Regions from separate parts of the Homo sapiens genome. Here regions 2 and 3 are each linked to region 1. The links are contacts of gene promoters, found by promoter capture Hi-C in blood cells and fetal thymus (Javierre and others, 2016). All regions are on one chromosome and are shown on one strand. Each heading gives the region's core, a stretch centred on a gene start or on the middle of the fragment in contact. The rest is flanking DNA. Distances are from core to core; before and after follow the strand shown.

What was found. Contacts are between HindIII fragments. The CHiCAGO score rates a contact against its expected background, and 5 or more counts as called.
Region 2: a fragment that was not itself captured here is called in contact with the fragment with the promoter of SLC11A2 in region 1 in 3 of 17 cell types (megakaryocytes, M1 macrophages and erythroblasts); the score reaches 7.6 in megakaryocytes.
Region 3: a fragment that was not itself captured here is called in contact with the fragment with the promoter of SLC11A2 in region 1 in 1 of 17 cell types (megakaryocytes); the score reaches 5.6 in megakaryocytes.

What each region holds. Positions count from the first base shown.
Region 1 is chr12:51,024,319-51,028,107 of GRCh38, forward strand. SLC11A2 (solute carrier family 11 member 2) reads right to left here and starts at 2,066. Exons shown (of 16, transcript NM_000617.3): 1 at 1,992-2,066. RefSeq lists enhancers at 1,026-1,639, 1,640-2,251 and silencers at 1,657-1,716, 1,727-2,446. The HindIII fragment of the contact is 11,669 bases long and covers 494-3,789 here.
Region 2 is chr12:50,779,290-50,783,078 of GRCh38, forward strand. It overlaps ATF1 (activating transcription factor 1), which reads left to right. Exons shown (of 7, transcript NM_005171.5): 2 at 851-949. The coding sequence starts at 857. Among named protein-coding and RNA genes, the nearest start is that of ATF1, 17 kb to the left of the region's middle. The HindIII fragment of the contact is 3,767 bases long and covers 239-3,789 here.
Region 3 is chr12:51,261,067-51,264,855 of GRCh38, forward strand. All of the region lies in intron 2 of SMAGP (small cell adhesion glycoprotein), which reads right to left. Among named protein-coding and RNA genes, the nearest start is that of SMAGP, 7.5 kb to the right of the region's middle. The HindIII fragment of the contact is 2,774 bases long and covers 378-3,151 here.

The DNA of each region.
Region 1 (3,789 bases), core at 816-3,315:
GGAGGCAGAGAATAAAGATGTCTTTGATTCAACAACACTCACCCAAATTCTTAGCAATGAAAGTCAAACAAGAAAGATCTGGCAGGGCGCGGTGGCTCACACCACCCCAGCACTTCGGAAGGCCGATACAGGTGGATCACTTGAGGTCAGGAGTTCCAGACCAGCCTGGCCAACATGGTGAAACCCCGTCACTACTAAAAATACAAAAAAAATTCGCCAGGCATCAAGAGGCTGAGGCAGGAGAATCGCTTGAACCCGGGAGGCAGAGGTTGCAGTGAGCCGAGATCGCGCTATTACATTCCAGCCTGGGCAACAAGAGCGAAACTCCGTATCAAAAAACGAAAGAAAGAAAGAAAAAGATCCTACTTTGTAGATATAATTCTCTAACCTTCACTGAGTCATAACTGAACCAAAGCTGCCTACTAGCTTTGTAGAGTAATCCAAGGGACCACTGCTGATTTCCTAACATTAGAGTAAGATTAGATTCATAAGAAGCTTCCCCATTCCTTAACAAGAAGTGCTGCCAGGCTACCCAGAAATTCCCCTCCCGAGTCCCACTGCCATTCCGGAAACATGAGAAACCAAGTATGCTGCAATCATGGCCTTTTTAGTACTGGCTCCAAAATAAACTGAGTAGGCCAAGCAAGACTGTCAATGAAATACTGTCCAATGAAAAAATAAACAGCCGAAGGTTTCAGGTTTCATTTACCCAACACAGGTATCACAATAAATGACCTAGTATAATGATAGTTTCCAACCGTATTTAATAAAACAAACACGCAGCAGAAATCCTCTAGTCACATATAACTACACTATACCCTCAGATCAAAGTTAATGATGTCAATGGAAAGTATAGGCCGGCGGGTTCACTGGTGATAAGTCATGAGACTCTGAGCAAAGAATAAGTAATAAGGTTAGAATTCTTTAGAAGTGTTAAGGGGAAAGAAGGTAACAACAACAAAAACTCCTCCACATCAAGAGTTCTAAGTACTTTGTTGTTTATTAACTAATTTCATACCAACAACCCTGTAAGACTGATATTATCAATCCCCATTTTAAGTACGTGGAACAAAAGAAGAAAGAGGCAAACAACATGCTCAAAGATTTACAAAGCCAAGAAATCATGCGAACTGGTGGGGCTTCGGGTTCCAGAAGTCAGTGTAAACATAGCTTCTCCATTTTTCACCAACAGTCACTAAAATTGAGGCCAGCAAGTTTTTAGAAGCCTATCTCCCCTTGCAAACTCTCCTTCCATATAATTTTTGCTTTTGCAAGAGATGTCACATTTAAGCGGTAGCTTTAAAAGTGGGGACACATGAAACGCACAGCTGGGAGAGCCATCCAGCCCACTTACATATGTGCAATATCCCCCTGTAGAAAAACCCTGCTCATTGGAGCCTGGAATCCAGAGGGTCCCTGAGAGCTACACAAACAGCCTTAAAACCAATCTACCCACAATTACTGAGCCGCGTATGCAGGCTATTCACACAGAAGGCGCTCCCTGAAGTCGGTTAGGTTATAATGAGTCTTTTGTTGAAGCGGGGCGGCGGGAGGCCCCGGAGAGCAGCCCGGCCCCCTGCGGCGCCGACGAAGAGGCCACGAAAGACCTTGCCCTGTGCCCGTCGGCCTCTTTCGAGGCGTCGAAGCAGGTCAGCGCACCCCGACACAGGCCGGGCGCGCCATCCGGTGCAGCTGGGAGCTGGGCCATGTGTCCTAGGCCGCGGCGGGGAAGGGGCGAGACCCCCGCGACCTCCGGCGTTCCCTCCCTGCCCCCATCTTTGGGTCTTTCTCTGAATGGCGCGACTCCATCAGTCCTGGACTCTGGGCCTGAGGCCCTCCCTGGCCACACCTCCCCTCACAGCCCCGCACGGCGAGCCGGTGTCGCATCCTAGCCCCGGAGCCTGACCCCCGACACAGGCCCTCGAGCCGCCCCGCGCCCCTCCCTGCCAGCGAGCGGAATGCCGTGACCCCTGACCTTGCCTTCCCCTCACCTTACCAGCTCCGCAACCACCTGACACGCCGCCCCCGCGCCCAGGGCTCCATATTCCGGGAGCCAGCGCCACGCTGGCTAACGCCCTCCCCTCCCCGCGATTGGTCGACAGGACGGCAGCCGCACATCCCTATTGGCTGGAGTCCCTGCAGCGGCCGGGATGCGTGGCCCGCAGACCAGGGACCTAGGCTCCGCCCACGCGGAGTCTGGATGCGGCGGCCCCTGGGGCACGCGGCGGCCCCTGGGGCACCCGGCGGGAGCTGCATGCTGCCTAGTTGCTGCTTGCGTTGGCCAGACCCACACAGCCCCTGGACTGGGGAGCTCCAGTCCGCTAGCAGTCTGGGGACAGATAAGATTCCTGCCCTAGTTCGCCGTGGCGCCACGTTAGGTACTGACAATCAAGCTACGAGGTATAGCTCTATCCTGTAAAGGGTAGCCAGGCCAGGCGCGGAGGCTCACACTTGTAATGCCCAGCACTTTGGGAGACCGAGGCGGGAGGATCACTTGAGTCCAGGAGTTCGATACCAGCCTGGGCAACATAGTGAGACCCGGTCTCTACAAAAAATTTTAAAATTAGCCAAGCAAAGGCCGGGCGCGGTGGCTCACGCCTGTACTCCCAGCACTTTGGAGGGCCCAGGCGGGCGAATCACCTGAGATCGGGAGTTTGAGACCAGCCTGACCAACATGGAGAAACCCCGTCTTTACTAAAAATACAAAATTAGCCGGGCGTGGTGGCGCATGCCTGTAATCCCAGCTACTCGGGAGGCTGAGGCAAGAGAATCGCTTGAACCCGGGAGGCGGAGGTGCAGTGAGCCGAGATCGCGCCATTGCACTCCAGCCTTGGAAACAAGAGCGAAAACTCCGTCTAAAAAAAAAAAAAAATTAGCCAGGCATCACGGCGCCCGCCTGTGGTCCCAGCTACTCGGGGGCTGAGGTGGGAGAATCACTTGGGCCTGGGAGGTGGAGGCTGCGGTGAGACAAGATCGTGCCACTGCACTCCAGCCTGGGTGGCAGAGCAAAACCCTGTCTCAAAAAAAAAGGATAGCCACCTGGAAGGAACATTTCCTCGCGCCCCCAGAGCCACATCATAGTATCTGCTGCCCCACCAAGAGCACCCCACACCTGGGAGGAACCGAGAAACATCAGCTAGTGCAGCCAGTTTGACCGCCTTAGGTGTCCTCCCAAGCCTCCGTAGTGAATTGTTTTCCTCCTCGCCCAGCTGACTCGATTCTCCCCAGACTTCATCCTACCTACCCAAAAGCAATCCCACTCTATCGCCAGTTTCAGCCTCACACCGTATCTTTTGCTCTGAAGATGAGACTGCCAAACTGGTGAAGAGGGAATAAATGGCCTAACAAATTACCGTAATTTTCTGCAATGTCGTTTACAGCCACCAAAAACATTAGATCCTCCCGCCACCCTCACTCCCCGACCCCTCGCACTGCTTACAGCATTAAAGGTAATTGAGCTTCTTTATTCACGTAAAAACAGCTAGGAGAAAATTTCATTAGTAAGAGAGACCAAGAAATGAGGAAAGGAGCGTGAACTGCAAAGAGAAAAATCCAAATAAAGTGCGAAGTAAAAACAAACTCGGGGACCAAAAAAAAGTGGGGGGGGGGGGCTTGGCTTCCTGGAGCAGGTTGGTTTTCATACAGAATTTCTCCTGGAGAAAAAAGAAAATGCACAAATTAGTTCTGAGATTCTCGCTACAGTACATCTGTGGAGTTTCAGAAAGGTTTGATGAAGTTCCTCCAGATCGGAACCTTTCCTTTGGCAACTTCTATTATAACTAGAAAATA
Region 2 (3,789 bases), core at 872-3,371, 240 kb before region 1:
AGTGAAATTGCTCTATTTTTGTTTGAGGAACTGCCATAGCGTTTTCCATAATAGCTGTACCACTTTACATTCCCACCAGCACAGTAGTGTACCAGGGTTCCAGTTTCTCCACATCCTTGCCAACACTTAGTATTTTCTGTGTCTTGATATTACCCATTCTAATGGGTATGTATGAGGTGATATTTCGTTGTAGTTTTCAGTGCATTTCCTTAATAGTGATATTGAGCATCTTTTCATAAGCTTTCTGGCTAGCCCTCTCTCTTTTTTTTTTTTTTGGCCTTTCCAGGTAACCTTTAAAAACATTAAATTCTGTCTAAATCTTTTACCAGCTTGTTAGTGGTTCTCTCCCTATTTGCCGTATTTGATCTCTCATAGCTCATTTATTCTCATTCTTACCTAGCCTACATATCCTGAAGTTGATTATCTAAGTTTTCTAGAACTTATTTAGAACCTCCTTAGGTATAGTTTTATTTATTTGTTCAACTTTTACTCAGTAAATTCTCTATATAAAAAACTATATGTACACTTAGAAACTTCCCTAGACTAGAGACAGATATGTTTGTGTCCATAGACAGGAGGACTGTCATCATTCTTCAATGGGATAACGTTTGCAAACTTAGTCATCATAATTTATGTTTATATGTGCCTTTTATTAAACTTAAACATGTTTTTGTGGGCCAAAATTCAAAAAATTTAAAGAAAATGCACAGTCCCCTTTCTATCTCTATACCATTGCTACCAGTTCTTTTCCATTGAGGCAACTAAATGATCAATTTTTATATGATTCTATAGTATACTGTAAACATTCTGTATCATATTTAATTTTAACGGACTTTTTTCCCCCTTATAGTTGATTATGGAAGATTCCCACAAGAGTACCACGTCAGAGACAGCACCTCAACCTGGTTCAGCAGTTCAGGGAGCTCACATTTCTCATATTGCTCAACAGGTAAGGGAGGGACTGGCCAAAATACTGAGCTTGTTAGGAATATTTTATATGCAGATTAATCTCGTTTCAGACTGATTATTAATGTGTTTTATTTTGGTTTTTGTTTTTTGGGTTTTTTTTTTCGAGGCAGATTTTTGCTCTAGTTGCCCAGGCTGGAGTGCAGTGGCATGATCTCGGCTCACTGCAACCTCCACCTCCTGGGTTCAAACAATTCTCCTACCGCAGCCTCCCAAGTAGCTGGGACTACAGGCATCTGCCACCACGCCTGGCTATTTTTTGTATTTTTAGTAGAGATGGGGTTTTACCATGTTGGCCAGGCTGGTCTCGAACTCCTGACCGCAGGTAACCCACCCACCTTGGCCTCCCAAAATGCTGGGATTACAGGTGTGAGCCACCAGACCTGGCATTAATGTTAAAAAAAAAAAAAAACAAAACAAGCAAAGGCCAGGCGCAGTGGCTCACGCCTGTAATCCTAGCACTTTGGGAAGTCAGGGCGGGCGGATCACGAGGTCAAGAGTTCAAGACTAGCCTGACCAACATGGCGAAACCCTGTCTCTAATAAAAATCAAAAATTAGCCAGGTGCAGTGGCGGTTGCCTGTAATCCCAGCTGCTCGGGAGGCTGAGGCAGGAGAATCGCTTGAGCCTGGGAGGTGGAGGTTGCAGTGAGCACAGACTATGCCACTGCACTCCAGCCTGGGCAATAGAACGAGACTCCATATCATAAAAATAAATAAATAAAAAATAAAATAGAAAAACAAGCAAAAAAGACTGTATAAAATGTTAAAATATAAGAAAAGAAGGTGGACTTTAAATATCTTGTCAAGATCATTTAGTTTTATTTTCTTTTAAACGAAGTATATAGTCATCTCTCAGTATCTGTGGGAGACTGGTTCCAGGACGTCCACAGATACCAAGATCTGTGATGCTTAAAGCCCCTGATAGAAAACGGCATGGTATTTATATATAACCTACATATTTTCCTGTATACTTTAAATCATTTCTAGATTACTTTTAATACCTAATACTATGTAAATGCTATGTGAATAGTTATACTATATGACAAGAAAAACAGTCGGTACATGTTCAGTATAGAGAAATTTTTTTTCCTGAATATTTTCAATCTGTGGTTGGTTGAATCCACAGATGTGAAACTCATGGATGCAGAACCCATGAATAAAGAGGCCTAACTGTATTTAGAGTTGTTTTCTTTGTTTTTGTTTTTGTTTTTCAAGGCAGGGTTTCGCTCTGTCGCTCAGGCTGGAGTGCAGTGGTACGATCTCGGGTCACTACAACCTCCGCCTCCCGGGTTCAAACGATTCTCCTGCTTCAGCCTCCCGAGTAGCTGGGATTACAGGCGCCCACCACCACACCCAGCTAATTTTTTGTATTTTTGGTAGAGACGGGGTTTCACCTGTTGGCCAGACTGGTCTCAAACTCCTGACCTCAGGTGATCCACCCACCTCAGCCTCCCAAAATGCTGGGATTACAGGCGTGAGCCACCGTGCCCGGCCAAAAAATTTTAAAAATTAGCTGGGTGTGGTGGCACTACAACACCTGTAGTAACAGCTACTTGGCTGAAGCAGGAGGATTGTTTGAGCCCAGGAGTTCAAGGCAGCAGTGAGCTATAATCATGCCACTGCACTCCAGCCTGGGTGACAGAGTGAGACCCTATCTCCAAAAAAAAAAAAAAAAAAATCATGCATGAGTGTAAGAGCCATTTAAAGTGCAAGATGAGACTAACGGATTTTAATGTTAACAATACACAAAGTTCAGACTGTACATGGCAAATAACCTTTAAGAAACTATAACTTGCTGAGTTTTGCTGCTGTATCAAAGAATACAATGAAATGAAAAGGCTTTTAAAACACTACACATCTTTTCTAATTGCATATCTATGTGAGGGCAGATTTTCTTCATATAATTCAACCAAAACAATGTATGATAACATAATTAATGTAGAATCAGATAAGAGATTTCAGCTGTTTTCTTTTTCTGTTTTTTTTGTTTGTTTGTTTATTTGTTTGTTTGTTTTTTGAGACAGTGTCTCGCTCTGTCGCCCAGGCTGGAGTGCAGTGGCGCGATCTCGGCTCACTGCAACCTCCGCCTTCCAGGTTCACGCCATTCTCCTGCCTCAGCCTCCCGAGTAGCTGGGACTACAGGCGCCCGCCACCACGCCCGGCTAATTTTTTGTATTTTTACTAGAGACAGGGTTTCATCGTGTTAGCCAGGATGGTCTTGATCTCCTGACCTCGTGATCCACCCGCCTCAGCCTTCCAAAGTGCTAGGATTACAGGCCTGAGCCACCACACCCGGCCTTTTTTTTTTTTTTTTTTTTAGTAGAGACAGAGTCTCACTATGTTGCCCAGGCTGGTGTCAAACTCCTGGGCTCAAGTGATCCTCAGCATCCCAAAGTGCTGGGATTATAGGTGTGAGCCACTGTGGCCAGCCTTTTTTTTTTTTTTTTTTTTGAGACGGAGTCTTGCTCTGTCGCCCAGACTGGAGTGCAGTGGTGCGATCTTGGCTCACTGCAACCTCTGCCTCTTGGGTTCAAGTGATTCTCCTGCCTCACCCTCCCGAGTAGCTGGGAATACAGGTGCCCACTGCCACGACCAGCTAATTTGTGTATTTTTAGTAGAGGTGGGGTTTCACCATATTGACCAGGCTGGTCTTGAACTCCTGACGTCAAGTGATCCACCCACCTTGGCCTCCCAAAGTGCTGGGATTACAGGCATGAGCCACTGCACCCGGCTGATTTCAGCTGTTTTCTATTAAGCCAGATATTAAGGAAATTTGCAGAAATGTAAAACAATGCCATTTCTCTCACTAATTTTTTTTGAAA
Region 3 (3,789 bases), core at 515-3,014, 240 kb after region 1:
GTGTGAGCCACCGTGCCCAGCCTTAATTTTTTTTTTTTTTTTTTTCTGAGACGGAGTCTCACTCTGTCACCTGGGCTGGAGTGCAGTGGCTCAATCTTGGCTCACTGCAACCTCCGCCTCCCAGGTTCAAGCGATTCTCCTGCCTCAGCCTCCCAAGTAGCTGGGATTACAGGCACCCGCCACTATGCCCAGCTAATTTTTTGTATTTTTAGTAAACACAGGGTTTCACCATGTTGGCCAGGCTGGTCTCGAACTCTTGACCTTGTGATTTGCCCACCTCGGCCTCCCAAAGTGCTGGGATTACAGGCATGAGCCACCACACCCGGCCTGGGTGTCACAATTTTGAAGTGAGCAGGCAAACCATGTCAGATAAGGAAAGCTTGCAAGAGAAAGCCCAGAGAAAAAAAAGGGAGCCTAGAGCTTGAATTCTGTCTTCTAATATGCCAAGGCATGACCTGTACAAGAGAACTAACAGCAGAAACTGGGAAAGACAGATGTCTCCCCAACAGAAGGAAGAGCAAAACTGGACAAAAGCTACGTAGCATCTTGGAGAGAGAATTCTAGGACAGAATGGTTAGTTGAACTAGCTGAGCATCAGAACCCCTCTCAGCCTTAATTTTTGAATTTTTATAAATGGAAAGTGTTCTATTAGAATTCTCATTAAAATCAAATTTTAAAATAAAAAATCCAGACATACTTAGAATGTCTATCTGGAGAGGAATGATGAAATAAATTACAGGCCATCCATTGTGGAAACAGTTGCTAAAACGAATATGAGATCTACAATATTACTGGGACAGGATACATGGTTAGATGAAAAAAGCAAACTGCCAGGTGGTATATGTAGTAGGACTGCATCTTTGTTTAAAAAAAAAAAAAAAAGTAAATTGGCAGAGTGCAGTGGCTTACACCCATAATCCCAGCACTTTTGGAGGCTGAGGTGGGAGGATTGCTTGAGGCCAGAAGTTTGAGTCCAGCCTGGGCAACATAGCGAGACCCCTGTCTCTCTGTGTATTTTTTTTTAAGTAACTTTAAAAAACCCTATAAATATGCATATATATGTTTGTACATAGAAAAGGTCTAGAAAGCTGTTCTCTGAGGGGCATGTATTACCTTTCAAATAAAAGAACATGCTTGGCAAGGTGGCTTACACCTATAATCCCAGCAATTTGGGAGGCTGAGGCCAGAGGATCACTTGAGTCCAGGAGTTCAAGACCAACCTGGGCAACATGGCAAAACCCTGTCTCTACAAAAAATACAAAAATTAACTGGGCATGGTGGCACGCACCTGTGATCCCAGCTACTTGGGAGGCTGAGGTGGGAGGATCACCTGAGTCTGGGAAGGTTGAGGCTGCAGTGAGCTGTGATTGAGCCACTGCTCTACAGCCTGGGTGAAACTGAGGCCCTGTCTCAAAAAAAGAAAAAAAGGACAAACAACAACAAAATAAACTAAGTTCAGGAAAGCTGGCATAAAAGGAGGAAATGGCTTATAGCTTTTCCCCCATTCTCTCCCGTTTCTACCCCATTTTTTTGTCCAAACAAAGGAATAATTATTAAATAGCACTACAGTCTTTCCAAACCTTCCCTGCTCAGGTTCATAAGATTGAAGGCCCCACCCAAGTCCTAACCAATAGCAAATGACCTTCAAGATCTATTCTGTTCACTTACTCTTTTTTTTGTTAACCCAGATACTGGCTGGCTTCTTTGTGGTCCTTGTTCCCAGCTTGAGCTAAATCTCTTATCACTGAGGCATCAGATCTTTTGCCACCTAAGTCTGCCAGCCTACTTATTTGCTCTAGACCTGCCCAGCAGAGGGCGGCTCCCCGAGTTCTTTCCATGGGAAGCCACCCTGGGACTCGGCCCCCTTTCTTCTGCCTTCTCTTTCATGTGCACCAGCCAGTTGGGTGGAGTGAGACCTTGGGAGCAGTACACCATGACAGAAAGAACACAGGCTTGCAGTAAATCAGACTTGGCGCAAAATCCTGCCTCTGCCATTACTAGCTGTGTGACCTTGGGAAATTTTTTTAATCTTTGAAAATTTAACGGTGACTCATGCCTGTAATCCCGGCACTTTGGGAGGTCGGGGTGAGTGAATCACTTGAGATCAGAAGTTCGAGACCAGTCTGGCCAACATGGTGAAACCCTGTCTCTACTAAAAATACAAAAATTAGCTGGGCATAGTGGTGGGCGCCTATAGTCCCAGCTACTCGGGAGGCTGAGGCAGGAAAATTGCTTGAACCCGGGAGGCAGAGGTTGCAGTTAGCCGAGATTGCACCACTACACTCCAGCCTGGGTGACAAGTGGGAAATTCCATCTCAAAAAAAAAAAAAGAAAAGAAAATTCCTTAACTCCCCTGAACTTCAGTTTTTCCTTCCGTAAAATGAGACTAAAACTTGTTTCATTGGGTTGTGGTGAGGAATAAGTGCAATGAAAAATGCTGCTTTGGGAGGCTGAGATGGGAGGATCACCTGAGGCCAGGAGTTTGAGACCAGACTGGGCAACACAGTAAGACCTTATTTCTACAAAAAATTATTTTTAAAATAAAATAAAGAAAAATGCTAAGTGTCTAATACAGGGTGAGGACAACCTAGGCGGTAGCTGGTGTGATCATTTGGTGGCAAGAGATGAGCTTTACCTGGCACGGTGGGCAAAGCCCACAAGGCACAGTTCCACTCTGCCCTACTTCGAATAGGGCTGACTTATGCACTAGGCACAACAGGCACAGTGCCCTGGGCCCACAATGCTTCGAAAGGCCCATGAAAATGTTTTAAATAATTTTCATTTCTTTTATAATTAGAAGAAGGAAAAGAAACAAAATTTTAGGTCAAAGAAATATTAAGGTTGTTATGCCATTCAATTACTAATTATAAATATTAATTATATTATATTATATTCTTCCTTACACTGATGCAGTTGTAAAATATGATTTTTAATATTTTTTTAAGTGAAGGAGGAGCCCACAAAGACAGAAGTGCCCAGGGCTCAGGAGTCATAATGTGGCCCTTCCTTTCAAGGTTCCTGGAGGATATCTTCTCTAGGAAGTCTTTATAGACTGTGAGGGAGGAATAGGTGGGAAGGTGGGGGAAGAGAAATGCAAGACAGGGGTAGAAGAGAAGAGCTGGCCTTTAGTGATCCCATCATTTAAAGTATAAGCTTTCTTCCTATCTGTGATTTCTATTCTTTTGTCTATTGCTGTCTCTGAACTTACACTTGCTTGGACCCAGTGGATAGGAGACTGTCCTAAATCACTACTTCACTCATGTCACTCGCTGGATCAAGAATGCAGCCAGGTGAGGTGGCTTGCGCCTATAATCTCAACAACTCAGGGGCAGAGGAAGGAGCATGGCTTCAGGCCGGGAGAGTTGCCTGAGCAACATAGCAAAACCCTATCTCTACAAAAAATTTTAAAATTAGCTGGGCGTGATGGTGCACGCCTGCAGTCCCAGCTGCTCAGGAGTCTGAGGTGGGAGGATCCCTCAAGCCCAGATGTTTGGGTCTGTAGTGAGCCAGGATTGTGCCACTGCACTCCAGCCTGGGCAACAGAGTAAGATCCCATCTCTTAAAAAAAAAAAAAAAAAAAAAAGGTCAGGCACAGTGGCTCATGCCTGTAATCCTAGTACTTTGGGAGGCCAAGGCAGGCGGATTGCCTGAGCTCAGGAGTTTGAGACCAGCCTGGGCAACATGGTGAAACCCCGTCTCTACTAAAATACAAAAAATTAGCCGGGTGTGGCAGCGTGTGCCTGTAATCCCAGCTACTCAGGAGGTTGAGGCAGGAGAATTGCTTGAACC